3 separate regions of the Homo sapiens genome follow, and all the other regions are linked to region 1. Evidence: promoter capture Hi-C in 16 types of primary human blood cells and fetal thymus (Javierre and others, 2016). All regions are on one chromosome and are shown on one strand. Each heading gives the region's core, a stretch centred on a gene start or on the middle of the fragment in contact. The rest is flanking DNA. Distances are from core to core; before and after follow the strand shown. Region 1 holds the start of JAK3 (Janus kinase 3). Region 2 has its middle 14 kb from the start of UNC13A. Region 3 holds the start of MAP1S (microtubule associated protein 1S).

Region 1 (5,133 bases), core at 1,126-3,625:
CAGGAAGCCCTCCCAGATCCAGTCATCTCTCTTAGCAGACCGGTCCCAGGGGCAACTGATATAATTATTGGGCAATAGCTTGTTTATTGCCATCTCCCCTGCTGGACTGTCAGCTCCCCTGGACAGGGATTGGGTCTGCATTGTCCCCGATTCCCTGCACACAGGCTGTGTCCAATAAGCCTCTGGCTGATTGAACAGTTAAGATCAACAAAATACTTACCAAACCATTTTGTGTTAAGACTTGTGATGGTGATACAGAGATGAAAAGTCTTTTTTTTTTTTTTTTTGAGACGGGATCTCACTCCCATTGCCCAGGCTGGAGTGCAGTGGCATGACCACAGCTAACTGCAGCCTCAACTTCCTGGGCTCAGGTGATCCTCCCACCTCAGCCTCCCCTAGTAGCTGGGACTACAGGCACATGCCACCACATCCAGCTTATTATTTTGTTGTTGTTGTATTTTTTGTAGAGACAGGGTTTCACCATGTTGCCCAGGCTGGTCTCGAACACCTGGGCTCAAGCCATCCTCCTGCCTGAGCCTCCCAAAGTGCTGAGATTACAGGTGTGAGCCACTGTTCTTGGCCACAACTTCTTAAATCTATTCCTTTTTTTTTTTTTGAGACAGAGTATTGCTCCGTCGCCCAGGCTGGAGTGCGGTGGCACAATCTCAGCTCACTACAACCTCCGCCTGCCTCCTGGGTTCCAGTGATTCTCCTGCCTCAGCCTCCCAAGTAGCTGGGATTACAGGCACATGCCACCACGCCCAGCTAATTTTTATATTTTTAGTAGAGATGGGGTTTCACCATGTTGGCCAGGCTGGTCTCGAACTCCTAGGCTCAAGCAATCTTCCCACCTGGGCCTTCCAAAGTGCTGGAATTACAGATGTGAGCCACTGTACCCGGTCACCACTTCGTCAGTCTATTCCTGAAGCTCTACTTCCGGGGCTCTGATCCTATTATCCTAAGAACACTGGCCCAAGTCTCTGCATTTGGATGCTGCCCGGGCCTTCTGCCTCTTCTATTTATAACAGCTCCTACTTCCAACTCTCCTGTGGCTCCAGATTATGCTCCAGGCAAAACCCACCCTTCTCCCAAAGACCCTGATCCCCCTGTCCCCCCACGATCTTGCCCCTGTTGACCGCCCTGCAGTCCCCTTCCCCCTCATCTCACCCCTGCCCCTGGCCTCCTGACTGCTCTTCAAGCTGCTAAGATCACTGCCCTCTCAAGGTCTTTGCCCATCCTGTGCCCTCCTCCTGGAGCACCCTTTCCCTGGCCAGCTCCCTGTCCTGCCTCGGGTCCAAGTTCCAGTCTGTGCCTGTCCTGACACCCTGGCTTTCTTTGTTGTCTGCGATGATTTGGCTCCTTCATTTGCTCATTGTCTCAGCGCCAGATCACAAGTTCCAAGAGGCCAGGCCGGATCCACCTGGTTTTTTAGGGCTGGGCCCAGGGCACCACAGGCAGAAATGGGTCATTATCTCTCCCTGAGTCTTTTCTTTTTTTTTTAAACGAAGTCCCGCTCTGTTGCCAGGCTGGAGTGCAGTGGCGCCATCTCGTCTCACTGTAACATCCGCCTCCTAGATTCAAGCAATCCTCCCACCTCAGCCTCCTGAGTAGCTAGGATTACAGGCATCACCAGGCCTGGCTAATTTTCCTGTTTTTAGTAGAGACAGGGTTTCATCATGTTGGCCAGGCTGGTCTCAAACTCCTGACTTCAAGTGATCCGCCCGCCTCAGCCTCCCAAAGTGCTGCGATTACAGGCCACCACGCCTGGCTAATTTTTGTATTTTTAGTAGAGACGGAGTTTCGCCATGTTGGCTAGGCTGGTCTCAAACTCCTGACCTCAAGTAATCGCCCGCCTCAGTCTCCCAAAGTGCTGGGATGACAGGCGTGAGCCACTGCGCCCAGCGTCTCCCTGAGTCTTAAGGGAGAAATACCTCAAAGAAGAACTTGACCTTCCTCTGGGGCAACTTCCCTGCTTCCCTCCTGGGCAAATCCAGCCAGGTTTCCTTCCCTGGGTGCAAAATTAGTTCCACTGGGTGCCCAACTCACACATGCTACAGATGGGTAAACTGAGGCAATAAGGGCCGGGCCAGAGCCCCACTTAACAAGTGGGTCTAGAGTCGGCTGAGCCCCTGGTGTGACCCAGACCCTTCTCTGTGCTATCATCAGTTCCTTTGGCTTAGGGGTCTCCAGCAGCCTGTCTGAACGGGGCGGCTGATGCAGAGGCTTCCGGAACTTTCTGCCCCTCCTTGCCCGCCTCCCCGCCCCCAGCTCCCGCAGGGCCCTGACTTTCGGTAAATGACAGTGGCTCAGGAAACCAAGGGGCCCACACAGGAAGGAGCCGAGTGGGACTTTCCTCTCGCTGCCTCCCGGCTCTGCCCGCCCTTCGAAAGTCCAGGGTCCCTGCCCGCTAGGTAAGAGCTGGCGATGCCGCAGGGCTCGGCCCAGACACTGGGGGAGGATGGTGGTGGCGGGGGATGGCTGGGCTGGGGCAGGGTGCTGCCAGGGCAAAGGCTAGCTCGCCTTCCAGGCCTCGGAGGAAAGCTGCGAGGCAGACGTGAGCCGAGACTCGCATCCTCCGATCGCTCGCTTCTCTGGGCTTCGGCTTTGACTAAGGCCGGGAGATGCCTGCCTTGCGGACCTGGAGGAGTCATTGCGCATGCGCGACGGGGGCTGCGGGGTTGGGGGTGGGGAGGAGGGATTGGGAAGGAGGGATTGGGGGGCGGAGTTCCCAGCCCCTACCCTCCAGGCCTTCCCGGTCCAGACACAGGGTACCCGACCATACCAGGATGCAGAACGTTGAGGATTATAAACAGGGGATGCCGAGGCGGGAGGATAGCTTGAGGCCAGGAGTTCAAGGCCAGCCTGGGCAACATAGCCAGACCTCCATTTCTACAAACATTTTTAAAAAACCAAAAAAACTATGGCGTTTTCTGGGACCAAACATCACCTCTGACTTTTCATTTTTTTTTGTTACAGTATTACAGAATAATAATATTCTGTTAAGATTTTTTTGTTGTTTTGGAGATGGGAGTCTTGCTATGTTGTTCAGGCAGGTCTCTAACCCCTGGCCTCAAGCTATCCTGCTGCCTCAGCCCCCTGAGTAGCTGGGATTGCAGTGGGGCGCCACTGCCACTGAAGCCTTATTTTAAACTCGACTGGGGCTGGGCACAGTGGCTCATGCCTTTAATCCCAACACTTTGGGAGGCTGAGGCCAGCGGATCACTGGAGGTCAGGAGTTCGAGATCAGCCTGGTCAACATGGTGAAACCCTATCTCTACTAAAAACACAAAAATTAGCCAGGTTTGGTGGCGGGTGCCTGTAATTCCAGCTACTCAGGAGGCTGAGGCAGGAGAATCGCTTGAACCTGGGAGGTGGAGTTTGCAGTGAGCCGAGATCATGCCACTGCACTCCAGCCTGGGAGACAGAACAAGAATCCGTCCTCCCCCCTACAAAATAAATAAATAAATAAAAAGGCTGGGCAATGTGGCTCACGTGTGTAATCACAGCACTTTGGGAGGCCAAGGCAGGCGAATCACCTGAGGCCAGGAGTTTGAGACCAGCCTGGCCAACATGGTGAAACTCCGTCTCTACTAAAAATACAAAAATTAGCTGGGCGCTGTGGTGCGCGCCTGTAATCCCAGCCACTTGGGAAGCTGAGGCATGAGAATCGCTTGAACCCAGGAGGCAGAGGCTACAGTGAGCCAAGATCGTGCGACTGCACTCCAGCCTGGGTGACAGTGCGAGACTCCGTCTCAAAAAAACAAACAAACAAACCAAAAAACTTGATTGGCTGATGTTGAGGGGACGATAGAGAGGCTATGGTGTGTGATTTTATTTCTATAAAGGGCAAAACTAGACATCAATCTCTCTGTGGGAGAGATGGGGCTCCTCCAAGGTTCCCGGGACTAGGAATGTGCTCATTCTTGGTCTGGGCATCGGTGACATCAAAGTGTCCCTTTGGTAAGGTTCTTTCCCCCACAAGACTTCCCTTCCCACAGTAACCACCACACCGCTGTGCCAATTGCCCTTCCTGTTTGGTTTAACAGGCGTTTGTTGATCGCTTACCGGCACATCATCAAGAAATATACAAATTAATGCACATTAATTGAGTTGACACTTTAGGCCTGGATTGCGCTCAGCAGACCACCTCAATGAGGATGCTGGGGAGTCAGCCCATTTCACAGCTGCGAAAGCTGAGTCCTAGGGGTCCTAGTCCTCTGATTGTCTTAAACCTCATTAGGCCAGGCGCAGTTTCTCACGCCGGTAATCCCAGCACTTTGGGAGTCCGAGGCAGGAGGATCACTCGAGGTCAGGAGTTCCAGACCAGCCTCGCCAACATGGTGAAACCCCGTCTCTACCAAAAATACAAAAATTAGCCGGGCATGGTGGCGTGCCCCTGTAATCCCAGCTACTTGGGAGGCTGAGGCAGGAGAATCACTTGAACCCAGGATGCAGAGTAAGCCGAGATTGTGCCACTGCACTCCAGCCTGGATGACAGAGCTAGACTCTGTCTCAAAACAAAAACAAAAAAACCCTCATTAATGCCGCCCCACCCCAGCCACAGGGCATTATTTTGGATCATAGTTTTTGTATTGTGTTTTTTTTCTAGAGATAAGGTCTTGCTCTGTCGCCCAGGCTGGAGTGCAGTGGTGTGATCATAGCTCAATGCAGCCTCAACTTGCAGAGCTGAAGGCATCCTCCTGTCTCAGCCTCCCAAGTAGCTAGGACTATGGGGGTGTGCCACCATGCCCTGCTAATTTTTTAGAGATGAGGTCTCAAAATCCTAGCCTCAAGTGATCCACCTGCCTCGGCCTGTCAAAGTGCTGGGATTACAAGGCTTTTTTTTCTTTTTGAGAGGAGGTCTCACTATATTGCCCAGTCTGGTTTCAAACTCCTGGTCTCGGCCAGGCGCGGTGGCTCACACATGTAATCCAGCATTTTGGGAGGCTGAGGCAGGCTGATCACTTGAGGCCAGGAGTTTGAGATCAGTGAAACCCCATCTCTACTAAAAATACAAGAAAATTAGCTGGGCGTGGTGGTGCCCACCTGTAATCCCAGCTACTGGGGTGGCTGAGGCACGAGAATCTCTTGAACTTGGGAGGCGGAGGTTGCAGTGAGCTGAGATTGCGCCAC
Region 2 (5,133 bases), core at 894-3,393, 150 kb after region 1:
TTACTTGAACCTGGGAGGCAGAGGTTGCAGTGAGCCAAAGGTTGTGCCATTGCACTCCAGCCTGGGTGACAGAGCGAGACTCTGACTCAGAAAATAAATAAATAAATAAAATAAATAAAGTAGAGATGAGGTCTCACTATTGTTGCCCAGGCTGGTCTTGAACTCCTGAGCCCAAGCAATCTTTCCGCATCCCAAAGTGCTAGGATTACAAGTGTGAGCTACCACGTCTGGCCTGACTTTTTCTGGTGGGGGACGGAGTCTCGCTCTGTCCCCCAGGCTGGAGAGCAGTGGCGTGATCTCGGCTCACTGCAACCTCCGTCTCCCAGGTTCAAGTGATTCTCCTGCCTCAGATTCCCGAGTAGCTGGGACTACAGGCGCCACCACACCCGGCTAATTTTTGTAGTTTTAGTAGAGACGGGGTTTCACCATGTTGGCCATGTTGGGCTCGAACTCCTGACCTCAAGTGATCTGCCCGCCTTGGCCTTCCAAAGTGCTGGGATTACAGGCATGAGCCACCATGCCCGTGCCCTACCCACACCCGCCCCCCACCCCCCACCCGGCGCCACCTTAAAAAAAGTTTTAAACTGTCATTTTAGGAGATTTAGGGGAAGGAGAGCCAGTAGAGTGCAGAGGTTAAGGGCCTCAGCTGGGCTTCCTAAATTCAAATCCAAGCTCTGCCACTCCCCTGATGTGTGACGTTGGGTGAGCAACTTAACGTTGTTGTTCTCAGTTTCCCCATCTGCAAACTCTATTATGGGGATTAAATGAGTGCTTGTAGAGTTCTGTTCCATGTCTGGCACACTGCAGGCACATGTCAAATAAGTTAACCTCCGTCAGAGGGTCACAGAGGGTCCCTGGTTCCCCTCTGCTCCCAGCCCTGGGATGGCCTAATGGCTTATGCTGCCCCCAGCTGGCCACTCTGGGAACTTTGGGCTGAGGCCCCCTCTCTGAGTCCGGAACCTCGCCTCCATTGGGTCTGAACCTATTACGTTCCTTTGTCTGCCTTTATTTCCTGCCTCCGTCTCCTCCTCTTGACCAATCCAATCACTTTTGTTTATGATCCATCCAATCCCATCCAACCACTCCAGGCCCATCCAGTCATTTTGCAGCCTAGTGTTATTTCCACCCTACATCCCTGCAGGGCAGGGCCTGGAACTTTCAAAAGATTGATGTTGCCTTTGTCCCATTTAATTCTCTGGGAAACCATTATTATTAATTATTATTATTATTATCTGTTGTCGTTGTTATTGTTGTTGTTTTTGAGACAGAGCCTCACTCTGTTGCCCAGGCTGGAGTACAGTGGCGCGATCTCGGCTCACTGCAGCCTCTGGCTCCTGGGTTCAAGCGATTCCCCTGCCTCAGCCTCCCGAGTAGCTGGGATTACAGGCGCCCGCCACCACGCCCAGCTGATTTTTAAACTTTTAGTAGAGATAGGGTTTCACCATGTTGGCCAGGCTGGTTTTGAACTCCTGACCTCAGGTGATCTGCCCGCCTTGGCCTCCCAAAGTGCTGGGATTACAGACTTGAGCCACCGCACCTGGCAGAAACCATTATTTTTTATCCTCATTTTATAGGCGATAAGCCAAGTTTGCCCTCATCGATTTCTCTGCCCCAGGCAGCCTGACAGCTACAATTAAGTTCAATAAGAGGTCCAATCTCAGAGCCTTTGCACACACCCTGCCCTCGGCCAGGAATGTCCTTCCTCCAATTCCCTGTGCTGAGCGAGATCCTCCTTGCTCGCTGGACCCTTGACCTTGGCAAAGAAGGAGCCGCAGAGAAAAAAGGGCAAGAGAAGATACAGACAGCACCGGCATAATTAAGTGGAGGGATGAGAAGGCTCAAATCAATAGCTTTGGAATTAGCTGAGCTGTTGGCTGGAAGAAAATGGGGCACCAGAGCTTAAAAATTAATTGGATCCGAGTGCTCAATGGTGAACGTTGAAATGCCCCTTTCATCATTATGATTATTATCATCATCATTATTATTATTTTGAGATGGGGTCTCACTCTGTTGCACCCAGGCTGAAGTGCAGTGGCGTGATCTCGGCTCACTGCAGCCTCTGCCTTTGAGGTTCAAGTGATTCTCCTGCTTCAGCCTCCCAAGTAGCTGGGACTGACTACAGGCAGGCGCCACCACGCCTAGCTAATTTTTTTTTGTATTTTTAGTAGAGACGGGGTTTCACCATGTTGACCAGACTGGTCTGCAGCTCCTGACCTCAGGTGATCCGTCCACCTTGGCCTCCCAAAGTGCTGGGATTACAGGCGTGAGCCACCACACCTAACAGAAACGTCCCCTTTCAGATCAGCGCGAGATGGGCAAGGGTGTGGATCCAAACTACGTTCATTGAATGAATGAACGATTACACAGACGTCTGCATTGCAGAAACGGCCTATTCTGAGAGTTACTCCAGACCCACTTCACGTCCCAGCCTTGTCCCCCTCCCCCGCCCCGCTGCCTGCTGCCCCAAACTCTCAGGAACTCAGTCTCCCCATCTATAAATGAGCACTTGACTGTAATCCCAGCACTTTGGGAGGCCGAGGCGGGTGGATCACGAGGTCAGGAGATTGAGACCATCCTAGCCAACACGGTGAAACCCCATCTCTACTAAAATACAAAAAAAAAAAAAAAAAAATTAGCTGGGCATGGTAGTCCCAGCTACTCGGGAGGCTGAGGCAGGGGAATTGCTTGAACCCAGGAGGCAGAGGTTGCAGTGAGCCAAGATTGCGCCACTGCACTCCAGCCTAGTGACAGAGTGATACTCCATCTCAAATAATAAATAAATAAATAAATAAATAAATAAATAAATAGGCACTTGAGAGAAGAAGAGGAGCACCTATGGTAAGCCCAAGGACACTGAATTCCATGTTCCCTGCAGGTAGCATTCCTGCTGACCTGATAACAGGGACTGGCGTTGGGCATGGACAGAGTTGTAAAGGGTGGACCCCTGGGTGTGATGTCTTGGCTTTGATAGTCCTGGAAGAGCAGGGTGTCCCTTGACCTTGTATCTATGCCCTTGCCCCAAATAGCCACACCTCATTGCGTGTTGTCGACTATCCCATTGGTGTCTCCAGCCTGCATCTCCCCAGAGCTCCAGGCCTCAGTATCCAATGGCATTGGATATTTCCACTGAGTGCCTTGCAGGCATTTCACACTCACAAGGCCAAAACCTGGCTCTTAGAATAGTTACTCGCCCTGAGATCTGCCCCTTCTCCATCCTGTTGGTGCCTCCACTATCACACAGTAGCCTGGGTCCTGATTCCTGGATACGCTCTTTATTTTATTTTATTTTATTTTTTTTGAGATGGAGTCTTGCTCTGTTGCCCAGGCTGGAGTGCAGTGGCGCCATCTCGGCTCACTGCAAGCTCCACCTCCCAGGCTCATGCCATTTTCCCACCTCAGCCTCGTGAGTAGCTGGGACTACAGGCGCCCGCCACCATGCCTGGCTAATTGTTTGTATTTTTAGTAGAGACGGGGTTTCACTGTGTTAGCCAGGATGGTCTCGATCTCCTGACCTCGTGATCCACCTGCCTCGGCCTCCCAAAGTGCTGGGATTACAAGCGTGAGCCACCGCGCCCGGCCCTCTTTATTTTATTTTTTTAAGAGACAGGGTCAGCCGAGCGTGGTAGCTCATGCCTGTAATCCTAGCACCTTGGGAGGCTGAGGCAGGCAGATCACTTGAGGTCAAGAGTTCAAAACCAGCCTGGCCAACATGGTGAAAACCTGTCTCTACTAAAAATACAAAAAACTAGTGGGGCGTGGTGGCGGGTGCCTGTAATCCCAGCTACTCAGGAGGCTGAGGTACAAGAATCGCTTGAACCTAGGAGGCGGAGGTTGCAGTGAGCCGAGATTGTGCCACTGCACTCCAGCCTGGGCAACAGAGGGAGACTCTGTCTCAAACAAACAAAACAAAACAAACAAACTAAAAAAGAGACAGAGTCTCACTCTGTCACCTAGACCCAGGCTGGAGTGCAGTAGTGCAGTCATAGCTCACTGCAGCCTCCATCTCCTTGGCTCAGGCAGTCCTCCCACTGCAGCCTCCTGAGTAGCTGGGACTACAGGCACACACCACCATGCCCAGCTCATTTAAAAATTTTTGTAGAGATGGGGTCTCACTCTGTTGCCCAGGCTGATCTCAAAATCCTGGTCTCCCTCAAGGAATCCTCCCGCCTCGGCCTCCCAAAGTGCTGGGATTACAGACATAAGCCACTGCACCTGACCTGGACTCATTCTTGTCCCTTCTCTTTCCTTACCCTGCATGTTCAGTGCATCAGCAGGTCCTGCAGTCTCCGGCTCCAGAATGAAACTGAGCCTCCCTGAGCTCCTAAGGGGCCTGCTGTATCTTGTGTGGATGCTGTCCTGGCTCCCTGCCACCTACACTCCTGCCCCCAGCCATCCTTGCTCCCCTAGGGAGCCCCAGATGGATTCTTAAAATCATAAAGCAGGCCGGGAGCGGTGGCTCACGCCTGTAATCCCAGCACTTTGAGAGGCCAAGATGGGCAGATCACGAGGTCAGGAGATCGAGACCATCCTAGCTAACATATGAAACCCCGTCTCTACTAAAAATACAAAAAAATTTAGCTGGGCGTGGTGGTGGGCACCTATAGTCCCAGCTACTTGGGAGGCTAAGGCAGGAGAATGGCGTGAACCCGGGAGGCAGAGCTTGCAGTGAGCCGAGATCGCGCCACTGCACTCCAGCCTGGGCGACAGAGCGAGACTCCATCTCAAAAAAAAAAAAATCATAAAGCAGATCACGCCCTTCCTCTGCTCAAAGCCCTCCCGTGGCTCCCTATTACCCTCATAGTATAGCCCACACTCTTTCCTGTGATCAGGAGGCCTGGCATAGTCTGTATCCCTGCTGACCTGCCCCCCTCCCCGCCCCCGACTCCATCCCTCCCTCACTCCCTCCACCACGTACTGACTCACTCATGTTTATGGAGTGCCCACAGTGTTCTGATTCCGTTTTCCGTTCAAGGTGGTCACTCCCTGCCAGTGCAGTTGGGGGCATCAGAGAGAGGTCTGGGGGTGGGGAGACACGGGTTAGAACAAGACCTCAGTGGCCACTTAGGCTTGGGCTGGAGTCTCAGCCCTGTCTTGCAGAGCTGAACCCCCATCTCTTCTTCCTTCTCAGTCACT
Region 3 (5,133 bases), core at 1,678-4,177, 130 kb after region 1:
AATCTTAGCTCACTGCAGCCTCTGCCTCCTGGGTAAAAGCGATCCTCCCTCCTCGGGCTCCTGAGTAGCTGGGACTACAGGTGTGCACCACCAGGTCCAGCTCATTTTTGCATTTTCAGTAGGGACAGGGTTTCACCATGTTGCCCCAGCTGGTTTTGAACTCCTGACCTCAAAAAATCCTCCCACTTTGACCTCCCAAAGTGTTGGGATTACAGGCGAGAGCCACCCCACCCAGCCTTAGCACGCTTTTTGCCACACAGGGATATTGCCCCATTCAGGTGGGGAAATCAAGGCATAAAGAAGGGAAGTGGCCACGAAGTTCACACACAGCAGACAGGATTTCCAGCTCCACTTTCTGCCCCATGAAGTGTCAGGAAGCCACAAGGACCAACTGGGACAATGAGACTACAGACACTTCCTTCCTCTCCAGCAGCAGCCGGGAGGTGACTCAAGAGACCATCAGGAGCCGGGGGCGGCTGCAGGCAACACCCAAGCCCTGCCTGCCCGCCTGCTGCTCTGCTCACCCTGGGTCACCCTAGAAGGGAGCCTCGTGCTGAGTTGGGCCCTTCTTGATCTCACTCCTTTTCAGTTCCCTGCCTACTGTATACCCAGGCCTGTGGCTGTGAACCAGTATCAGTCCCTTCCTGCAAGGGGCCCACACTCCATCTTCCAGGGCCTGCTCAGTGCCCCTCCACCTTCCAGATGTTTTTTGTTTGTTTGTTTGTTCTGAGACAGAGTCCCTCCCACTCTGTCACTCAGGCAGGAGTGCAGTGGCGCAGTCTCAGCCCCACTGTAACCTCTGCCTCCTGGGTTCATGTGATCCTCCCACCTCAGCCTCCCGAGTAGCTGGGATTAGAGGCGCCTGCCACCATGCCGTTATTTTTGTATTCTTAGTAGAGACAGGGTTCCTCCACGTTGGCCAGGCTAGTCTCCAACTCCTGACCTCAAGTGATCCGCCCGCTGCGGCCTCCCAAAGTGCTGAGATCAGAGGCGTAAGCCACCGCGCCCGGTTCATTCTAGATGTTCTGTCCACTGCTGGGTCTTGACTGGGGCCCTTCCCTTCCACTGGACACACCAGTCATAGCAGTTTCTCATCAAAAAACCCCCTCCTCAGAGATCTCCCTGCCTCTTCCCCCTTCAATGCCAATTTCCTCATCTGTCAATCAGGGACAAAAACACCAGTTCCTGCACTGTGGGTTGCTGAGGACTGAGGGGGTTATCACTGGGTCACGGCTTGCATTTGAAAGGTCTCAACTGTATTATTACTGTTGTTATTTATAGCTGCATCCCACCCCCCATGCCTGGCACACGGCTGGCACTTCCCCAAATAACAAGAGGTAGGGAGCAGTCAGGGGGACCCCAGCCTCACCTTTCACAATGCTGGAGAAGGTGGCAGAGTGTCGGGACACAAAGACCTTGAGCTGTTCATCAAGGTTGCAGACGCCAGGATCGACATCCCAAGACCGGATGCCTGGTGGGAAGGAGGGATCAAGGCGGGAGTTCAGCCGGGCCCCCCAGCTCCCAGAATATTTCAATAATTAGCACCCCGTGGGTGGGGAGCGCCCCAGCCTCCTCCCTTCACTCACAGCTTGGAGACTCAGAAGTACCCAACACCTTCAGGTCTCGCTGCAGCTGAGCCAGGGGACCCAGAGCACACCTCATCATTTTACACACAAGATTCATCAGCAACAAAGCCTCCACCTCCTCCATCTCCACCTCCTCGCTGCTCCTATGCCCTGCCAGACCCGTTTCCACTCACCGCCCTTGCAACAGCTGTTTCCCCTGCCTGGAAGTCCATCCCCCTGCCGCCCCCACCTGTTCCTACTGGCCAGGGGGCCCTTCCCCCTCAGCACCTTCGGGTGCTAAGACTGACTGTCCTCTCAGTCCCTTGCAGCCTTCTCATCCTTCCTGACACCATGTGAGCTGGAAGCTTGTTCCATCTCCTCACTCGCTTTGGGTCCATCCCCAAACCAGACCTGTGTTGGCAGGGCTGAACCTGTCTATCATCCCGGCCATATCCCTGTGTCCACTGCCCAAAGGCCTGGCGCATAGCAGGTGCTCACTAAACACTCCTCAAGCACATGAACCGAGGTGCGTGTTCCTGTCCCATTTTACATGCAATGAAACGCCAGGTCCAGATGCTCCGAGGGATGGGGGATGAACACCCATCTCCACCCACGGGCGCATCACGCCCGCCAGTCCCACTGAGCCAAGTGGCTGCAGGTGAACCTGGCAGGTGCGCCTATGACTCACCTCCCTAGGTGCCAAATCCCCAGGGCAGGCCGCACCCGCCCACACCCCAATTAGCAGCTCCTTGTGAGGCAACAGAAAGCGGGCCCCGGGGCTCCAGGCCCAGCCTCCCCCATATCTGCTTCTCCCTCCGGGAGATCTCTATCTAAGCTGCTAAGACCTGGAGATCCAAAGCGACCCCAGGCCCTACCCCCGGGCAGGCCAGTCAGGCGGGAAGCGGAGCCGTGGTCCAACTGCAAGGGTCCCCAAGCCCAGGCCCGTGTCCCCTCCCCTATCTTCACCCGGAGTTGGGGCGGGGCAGCCCTGCCCAGCCCAGGCCCGGATGCCACTTTCTCCGCGGGCACCCACGGGCACCCCGCCTTTGCCCGCGTCGTGCGCCTAACGGTGAAGGGGACCCAGCCCCAGGCCCGCGACCCCCGCCCCGGAGCCCGGGTCCCGCCGCCGCCGCCGCCGCCGCCCCACCCCGCCGGCCCCGGGCCCAGACGCGCGAACGGGCCCGCCTCCCGGGCTCCCGCGGGCCCCCAGGCCAGCCCGACCTCTTTCGAGCTCCTCCAGGACGTAGGTGAGGAGCCCCGGGCTCCCGAACTCGCTGCCCACCACGAGGAGCAGTGAGCTCGGAGCCGCGGCAGCCCCAGATCCAGCCACCGCCGCCATCTTCGGGCCGCCCCGGCGTTCTCGGCGCCCGCCCCGCAGGCCCCGCCTCTTAAAGGGGCCGCACCGGAAGGGCTGAAGACCCCGCCCGGAACCACCGCATCCCCGCCCCTTTTTGTCGACCACTTACAGGCCCTTTGAGGTCGTGGAGAGCAGGGGATGCGGGCGTTAAAGGGGTTGGCCGACTCCTGGGTGTCCGCTTGGGAGCCGCCTCTCCCAAGTGACCATTCATTCATTTTTTTTTTCATTGAACAAGCTTTGATTGCGTGCCTGCTGCATGTAGGTCAGAACTCCTGCCCTCCAGGAACTCACATCACATGACAGTAGGCCGCATCAGAACCCGGTGCCTATGGATGCTCCCAGCTCTCTAGGTCAGGGCTTGAACAGAGAAAAGAAATCTATCTTGTAGGTAGGGCTTTAAGGGATGTGTAGGAGTTTGCCTTGTGGGTGGTGGGGCAAGAGCTGGTGAGGCAGAAGTTTACAGCAGGTGCAAAGTTTTAGAGGTAAGAAAGTACATGTGTGTTTGGGACACAACCGGAGCACTCTGGGCCTGCCTGGAACAGGGCAACACTTATTCTGCACCTCCTGTGCGCCAGGTATTTTATTGCATTAGCTCATTACATACAAGCACAAAGCGATGAGTTTTGTGCTTGTATGTAGGCACAGATGAGTAGGCACAGTTACTGTGGTCACTTTCAGAGGAAAGAAGAGGAAACTGAGATTTGGAGGGATGAAGTCACCAGGCCTGTAAGTGGTAGAGCAGGTTTGAACCCAAGTGGGTCTTACTCTAGATCCAGCCTGTGCAAGGGACTGCCTGCGTTGCGCACATGGGTACCTCTCTCTCCCCAGATAATCCTCTTTAGGCTTTTCTTTCCTTTCCTCCCCTCTCTTCTCCTCTCCTCCCCTCCCCTCCTCTCCTCTTCTCCCCTCCCCTCCCCTTCTCTCCCCTCTCCTCTCCTCTCCTCCCCTCCCCTCCCTTCCTCTCCCTCCCCTCCCCTCCCCTCCTCTCCCCTCTCCTCTCCTCTCCTTTCCTTTTCTTGAGATGGAGTCTCATTCTGCCGCCCAGGCTGGAGTGCAATGGCACAATCTCAGCTCACTGCAACCTCTGCCTCCCGGGTTCAAGCGATTCCCTTGCCTCAGCCTCCCAAGTAGCGGGATTATAGGTGTCCGCCACCATGCCCTGCTAATTTTTGTATTTTAGTAGAGATGAGGTTTCTTTTCTTTTCTTTTCTTTTCTTTTCTTTTCTTTTCTTTTCTTTTCTTTTCTTTTAGAGACAGAGTCTCGCTCTGTCGCCCAGGCTGAAGGGTAGTGGCGCGATCTCGGCTCACTGCAAGCTCCACCTCCCAGGTTCATGCCATTCTCCTGCCTCAGCCTCCCGAGTAGCTGGGACTACAGGCGCCCGCCACTGTGCCCAGCTAATTTTTTGTATTTTCAGTAGAGACGGGGTTTCACCGTGGTCTCGATCTCCTGACCTCGTGATCTGCCTGCCTCGGCCTCCCAAAGTGCTGGGATTACAGGCGTGAGCCACCGTGCCCGGCAGAGATGGGGTTTCACCATGTTGGCCAGGCTGGTCTCGAACTCCTGACCTCAAGTGATCCTCCTGCCTTGGCCTCCCAAAGTGCTGGGATTACAGGCGTGAGCCGCCGCGCCTGGCCCCCTTTAGCCCTTTGACCCATAGGGGCTACTACTTGACAAATCATCTTGCTTGGAACTTCTGGACAGTGGTCCATGCCCAGGAAACATTGAACCTCCTTTCTCAGGAGTGAGCTCCCTGTCTCCGGGAGTATGCAAAGAAAAGCAGAACAGAAATGGGAAAGATCTGGGAAGGCGAATCAGCCTCCCGCTGCCGTTTATTATCTAGGTTGTTCAGCCCAACTTCCTCCCTGGCCAGTGTGTAACAGCCACTGGCCACGTGCCGTCTACCATTCTTGCACTCCACTTCCTCTCTCTCTTTTTGGTTCTGGCATCCTTCCTCTATCCTTGTCCCTCCCCCTTGGCTCCCTTCCCTGTGTCTCGCCTGCCTGTGATTTCTTCTGTTATTGCTGTGAGCAGTAATAGTAGTGGGAGTGTCTGTGTCGGGCACTATCTCCCCTATAAGGCTGGAAACTTTTGGAAGCCTGAGGCCTCTCTGGGGCCCTGGCCTTGTGCAACACAAGGCTTGGGCATCTGAGAAGGGATATGATAAAGTCTTTTGGAATGGGCTGAAAGGCCTATTTGTCCACTATTCCTTC

The links. The method cuts DNA at HindIII sites, captures the fragments that hold promoters and counts their contacts. A CHiCAGO score of 5 or more calls a contact.
Region 2: a fragment that was not itself captured here is called in contact with the fragment with the promoter of JAK3 in region 1 in 1 of 17 cell types (total CD4 T cells); the score reaches 5.6 in total CD4 T cells.
Region 3: the fragment with the promoter of MAP1S here is called in contact with the fragment with the promoter of JAK3 in region 1 in 13 of 17 cell types (non-activated CD4 T cells, naive CD4 T cells, activated CD4 T cells and 10 more); the score reaches 10.1 in non-activated CD4 T cells.

Annotation. Positions count from the first base shown.
Region 1 is chr19:17,845,224-17,850,356 of GRCh38, reverse strand. It overlaps JAK3 (Janus kinase 3), which reads left to right and starts at 2,375. Exons shown (of 24, transcript NM_000215.4): 1 at 2,375-2,411. The HindIII fragment of the contact is 7,731 bases long and covers 1-5,133 here.
Region 2 is chr19:17,699,836-17,704,968 of GRCh38, reverse strand. No RefSeq gene overlaps it. Among named protein-coding and RNA genes, the nearest start is that of UNC13A, 14 kb to the right of the region's middle. RefSeq lists a silencer at 3,383-3,610. The HindIII fragment of the contact is 7,500 bases long and covers 1-5,133 here.
Region 3 is chr19:17,717,274-17,722,406 of GRCh38, reverse strand. MAP1S (microtubule associated protein 1S) reads right to left here and starts at 2,927. Exons shown (of 7, transcript NM_018174.6): 1 at 2,787-2,927; 2 at 1,370-1,471. The coding sequence starts at 2,904. RefSeq lists enhancers at 1,736-1,885, 2,276-2,345, 4,396-4,897 and a silencer at 2,696-2,745. The HindIII fragment of the contact is 1,227 bases long and covers 1,933-3,159 here.